Linked DNA regions of Homo sapiens: region 1 is linked to region 2. The links are contacts of gene promoters, found by promoter capture Hi-C in blood cells and fetal thymus (Javierre and others, 2016). All regions are on one chromosome and are shown on one strand. Each heading gives the region's core, a stretch centred on a gene start or on the middle of the fragment in contact. The rest is flanking DNA. Distances are from core to core; before and after follow the strand shown.

Region 1 (2,700 bases), core at 65-2,564, 770 kb after region 2:
GCCGTATTTATGCTTTTGACTAACGTTTTTCTGTACAGGTGTATAGGGTAATGTAATAGGTAAAATAACTCATTCAACAACAAAAAATTATTGTAGTATTTTGTAGCTACTAGGATTGAAGTACTAAAGAATTGTCTGTCTGCCAAGGTTTGGGGAAATGGGAAAATGGGACAAGATCTTCACCACATGGGGCACATTTCACCTCTCTGGGATTCATTTCCTATTCTGTAAATGGCAGAGTTGGGGTTCCAGGTCTTGTCCTTGTTTTTTTGACTTTGTGTGAAGGTTTCTCCACCTCACCTGGCACTAGTCTTATTTCAAAATATTCATCTCATACTATCCTCTCTTTGCAATTCTTTAATTCATTCAACAAATATTTATTGAGCTTCTACTAGTATTGTGAGTAACAGAAGCAAGGTTCCTCCACACATGGAGCTTATTATAGTCCAAAAGGATAGGACAATAAATAATTTTGAAAGTAAACAAATATTTATTAATAACTGATAAATAACTATTGGTTGGAAAGGTGCTAAGAAGGAAATAAATAGGATCATGTGTTATGTCTCTGAGAGTCTTAGAATGAAGCAGACAAGCTCTTTCACTTTCAAGTGCTGACGTAGTAAAGTCATTAGGTTTCAAAAAAGGAAAAAAAGATAATATCTTACAATTAACTAATGAATGAACAGCCATTACGCTAGAAGAAAATTGTATTGTGATTGGTGTACTCCGTATCTTCTCAGAATGAGAGAGGTGAGGCTTCTCAAAAAGAGCAGCGAGAGAAAGTCACTTAAAAATTTTTTTTTTTTGGTAGGTCAAGCTAAAGACGAACTGAAAATAGACAACCTGAAGTCAGACGGGAAAGCTGCCAATCTAGTCTGGCCAGCAGAATTTCTTTCAGTAGGTCTAGGCTCCCTCGGCATTGGGAATCCAGATGTAAAGAAAACTTACGCCATAAACTTCAAGGTAGATTTCAGTTATTACTGCCCGGTGGCAGGAACCTAGGAAGGTGAGGTCAAGGTGTGGTTTAGTAAGAGACAGCTCCCGGGAACGGCACTTGGAAGGGCAGGGCGGAGAACAGCTGGAGATGAGATAGAGAGCAGGGGGAGAATGCGCCGACACCTCAAGGTGAGAGAGTAGAAACAGTCTCCGCCGTGGGAGCCGCGCGCTGCTCAGGTGGCTCTTTCCCGCTCAGGTGAGCTCCTCCCGCGCCTCCCATTGGCCGAGATGCCCGCGGCGCTGGGAGGGCGACGCAGCGCGGTCTAGTTCAGGGTCTAGGGCGGCGCGTCACTTCCGGTAGCGCGGAGCTTGTAAAACACCCTGGAGAGAAAATGGCGGCGGCAGCAGCTTCGGCGCCTCAGCAGCTCTCGGATGAGGAGCTTTTCTCTCAGCTCCGCCGTTACGGCCTGTCTCCCGGACCAGTGACGGAGAGCACCCGCCCGGTCTACCTCAAGAAGCTGAAGAAGCTTCGAGAGGAAGAGCAGCAACAGCACCGGTCAGGGGGCCGCGGCAACAAGACGCGGAACAGTAATAACAATAACACGGCAGCCGCCACGGTCGCAGCCGCGGGACCAGCGGCGGCGGCGGCCGCGGGGATGGGGGTCCGGCCGGTCTCGGGCGACCTCTCCTACTTACGGACTCCTGGGGGCCTGTGCCGAATCTCGGCCTCTGGCCCAGAGAGCCTCCTGGGAGGGCCCGGGGGCGCCTCCGCCGCCCCCGCGGCTGGCAGCAAAGTGCTGCTGGGCTTCAGCTCGGACGAGTCGGACGTGGAGGCCAGTCCCCGGGACCAGGCCGGCGGCGGCGGGAGGAAAGACCGGGCTTCGCTCCAGTACCGCGGGCTCAAAGCGCCGCCGGCGCCCCTGGCCGCCAGCGAGGTGACTAACAGCAACTCTGCAGAGCGAAGGAAGCCCCACTCGTGGTGGGGGGCCAGGAGGCCGGCGGGCCCCGAGCTGCAGACCCCGCCGGGGAAAGATGGAGCAGTGGAGGACGAGGAAGGGGAGGGAGAGGACGGTGAGGAGAGGGACCCGGAGACCGAGGAGCCGCTCTGGGCGAGCCGGACCGTGAATGGCAGCCGGCTTGTCCCCTACAGCTGCCGGGAAAACTATTCGGACTCAGAGGAAGAGGACGACGACGACGTGGCCTCCAGCAGACAGGTATTAAAGGACGACTCCCTTTCCCGGCATCGGCCCAGACGAACCCATAGTAAGCCTCTCCCCCCGCTGACTGCTAAATCGGCCGGCGGCAGGCTGGAGACTTCAGTTCAGGGAGGGGGAGGACTCGCGATGAATGACAGGGCGGCGGCTGCCGGGAGTCTAGACAGGAGCCGAAACCTCGAAGAGGCGGCGGCCGCGGAGCAGGGAGGAGGGTGTGATCAAGTGGACTCCAGCCCCGTTCCTAGATACCGTGTTAACGCTAAGAAACTGACCCCTCTCCTGCCCCCGCCACTTACTGACATGGACTCAACCTTGGATTCGTCAACAGGCTCCCTTCTGAAAACCAATAATCATATTGGCGGTGGGGCCTTCAGTGTGGACTCCCCCAGGATTTATTCTAACAGTCTCCCTCCCAGTGCGGCGGTGGCCGCCTCTAGTTCACTCAGGATCAATCACGCCAATCATACGGGCTCCAATCATACCTACCTGAAAAACACATACAACAAACCGAAGCTTTCCGAACCCGAAGAGGAACTTCTCCAGCAATTTA
Region 2 (2,700 bases), core at 20-2,519:
CACATAAATTAGAAACATGATGCAAGAGTGATTCAAGGTATTTTATATAGGAAATGCCTGGTGTAGTGTCTTGGACAGCTAAATAAAGGTAGCTGTTAAAACATTAGTTTTATTCTATGCTCTTACCATTCCTCCCTCTCCAAGTTTTGTTTGTAGTCTGTGGCAGCAACCTAGTCTGTATTTAGTACACATTGAATAATCAACAATGAAATGTAAATATTGAGCACATTGTGTGTCAAACACATGTATTAACTCAAACCTCACAGAAACCCTTTGAGGTCGGTACTATTAACAATCCCCATTTTACATACGAGTAAACTGAAGCATGGATAGACTAAAGTAAAGTGCCTGAGGTCAACTAGTGAGGAGGCGGAGTGGCAGTCAAGTCGAGGCAGCCTAAGCCTACACTGCCTCTATGTTGCATTAATAAATTAATAAATCTGTGACCAAATAAATGAAGTGACATTTAGTAGCATCGAAAGATCCCGTGAGTAGGACTTCCTAAGAATGCTCTCCTTCTTTTCATGGACAAAATTTTAGTCTGTTTAAAATAAATTTTGGACCGGACACCGTGGCTCACGCCTGTAATCCCAGTACTTTGGGAGGCCGAGGCAGGTGATCACTTGAGGTCAGGAGTTCGAGATCAGCCTGTCCAACATGGTGCAACCCTGTCTCTACGAAAAATACAAAAATTAGCTGGGTATGGTGGCGCGCGCCTGTCATCCCAGCTACTCAGGAGGCTGATGCAGGAGAACTGCTTGAACCCCGGAGGCGGAGGTTGCAGTGAGCCAAGATCTCGCCATTGCACCCCATCCTGGGCGACAGAGCGAGACTCCGTCTCAAAGAATAAATAAATAAATTAATTAATTAATTTTGAAAACCTGTCAGCACTCATCAGAGCTTTACACTGCTGTACTCGGGACACTTGGGGCCGTAGACAAGCAATTAAATTGACTCACACGTGGTTAGAACCACGTCATCCTGATTCGTGAATCCGTACTCTCAACTACTAGAAGCCCTTTGTGGAATGCTCGGGGCGAACCTGACGCTTGAGCTCTGACACCACGCAGACACAGCCGGGGATTTAGGAGCTGGGTAGGGACTCCTGGGCCGGATGCCTCATCCCGGCATGCACCTCAAGCCCCGGTGACCACGCCTTCCGGCGAGCGCCAGGGAGCGCGTGTGCGCCTCGCCGCCCGGAAGCGCCGGCCGCTCCCTGCATGCTGGGAGTTGTAGGCCTCCGGCGTCAGCCCGCGGGCTGCCGCCCGCACTCTCCAAGAGACTGCTGGCGCCGGCGCCCGCCCGCGCGGCACCGACGCGGGGAGCGCGCTTCGCGCTGACTCAGCGGCGGCGGCGGCTGCGGCGGCGGCGGCGGCGTTAGCCGGCCCTCGCGCTCTTTCCCTTCCTGGGGCGCCGACCCCGCCCGCTTGCTTGCTTGCTTGCTTGCCTGCCTGCCTGCCTGCCCGGCGCCACGCAAGAGAAGGTGCCAGGGGACGCAGAGCGACTAGAGGCGCGCGGTCCCGGCCAGCACCGTCTCTGGCGTTGTAGCTGCGGCCGTGGCGGAGGACTACGGCGACAAGGACGAGGGCCGCTCTCCCAGCTCTCTGCGTGCCGCGCCGCTCCGCTCCGCTGGCTGACCATCTGGAGTGCAGGCTGGGAGGCGGGATGGAGTGATAGGGAAGGTGACTCGGGGCTCGGGGGCAGCGGGACCGGGACCAGGTTTGGTCCGCGTGAGGCTTCGAGGAAGTTGGCCGGGGCGGACCGGCCCGGGGGAGTCCCGACGCCAGGGAGGGTGCAGGCTTGGGACCCTCTATGGCGGTGCACCCCCTGGCTGGGCGGACCGGGTGGGGGTGGGTACGAGCCGGGGCCGCCGCCGAGGAGCGCGTCCCGAGTGCGTGGCCGGCGGTTGCTTGGTGTTTCATCACCCGAATTGCCACGAGGCTTCCTTTAGGGGAGGGATCGGGGGAGGGATGGGAGCAAGGCTAGCAGAGGAGGGTCGGCATCGCCTGTGGTTCCGAAGCCCGTTAGTCATCGTTGTAGCGTTATCAACTGTGGAGACCTCAAACTTGATTCTTCCCCCACCCCTGGACAAAAAGGAAAAGTGTTATTTCTGTGCAGTAATTGGCCAGCACGGACGCTCCATTTCTTCTCAAACCTTCCTCACCATCCTGCAGGACTAGAGAAGCATGAGGTTTCCCTGTAACCAGAAAAACGAGTACTTTTTGAAAGTGCTAATTAGTTGTGGCGGGCGGGGGTTGGGGGAGAGTTACGTTTTATTAAACCGACTTGTCAGCGTGGTGTTAAAAGGCTGGAAAGATTCAGTCGTAGTATTTGAAACAGTCTTCAGTAGGTGTAGAGGAATTTTTCCAAATTGTTTGATTCTTAATGGCTATCCAGGAAAAGTTAAGGCTTAATATTTTAAGTATGTTGCTTGCCTTCCCCCAAGAACCTTTGCAAGATGCATAATTGTTTACCGTATTGAAACATTTTTTGGGGTTTTGTTGTTGTTGTTTTGAGACGGAGTCTCGCTCGGTCGCCCAGGCTGCAGTGCAGTGGTGCCATCTCGGCTCACTGCAACCTCTGCCTCCCAGGTTCAAGTGATTCTGCAGCCTCAGCCTCCCGAGTAGCTCTATTACAGGTGCGCCCCGCCACACCTGGCTACTTTTTGTATTTTTCGTAGAGATGGAGTTTCACCGTGTT

Evidence for each region. Contacts are between HindIII fragments. The CHiCAGO score rates a contact against its expected background, and 5 or more counts as called.
Region 1: a contact is called between the fragment with the promoter of LEMD3 here and the fragment with the promoter of XPOT in region 2, in 1 of 17 cell types (non-activated CD4 T cells). The highest score is 5.5, in non-activated CD4 T cells.

What each region holds. Positions count from the first base shown.
Region 1 is chr12:65,168,269-65,170,968 of GRCh38, forward strand. It overlaps LEMD3 (LEM domain containing 3), which reads left to right and starts at 1,315. Exons shown (of 13, transcript NM_014319.5): 1 at 1,315-2,700. The coding sequence starts at 1,329. It overlaps LOC124902953 (a long non-coding RNA gene), which reads right to left and starts at 1,148. Exons shown (of 2, transcript XR_007063349.1): 1 at 949-1,148. RefSeq lists enhancers at 833-892, 1,078-1,650, 1,333-1,482, 2,393-2,472 and silencers at 1,603-1,812, 2,196-2,399. The HindIII fragment of the contact is 1,790 bases long and covers 1-1,461 here.
Region 2 is chr12:64,403,123-64,405,822 of GRCh38, forward strand. XPOT (exportin for tRNA) reads left to right here and starts at 1,270. Exons shown (of 25, transcript NM_007235.6): 1 at 1,270-1,682. RefSeq lists enhancers at 845-894, 1,992-2,700 and silencers at 1,285-1,444, 1,775-1,884. The HindIII fragment of the contact is 10,073 bases long and covers 1-2,700 here.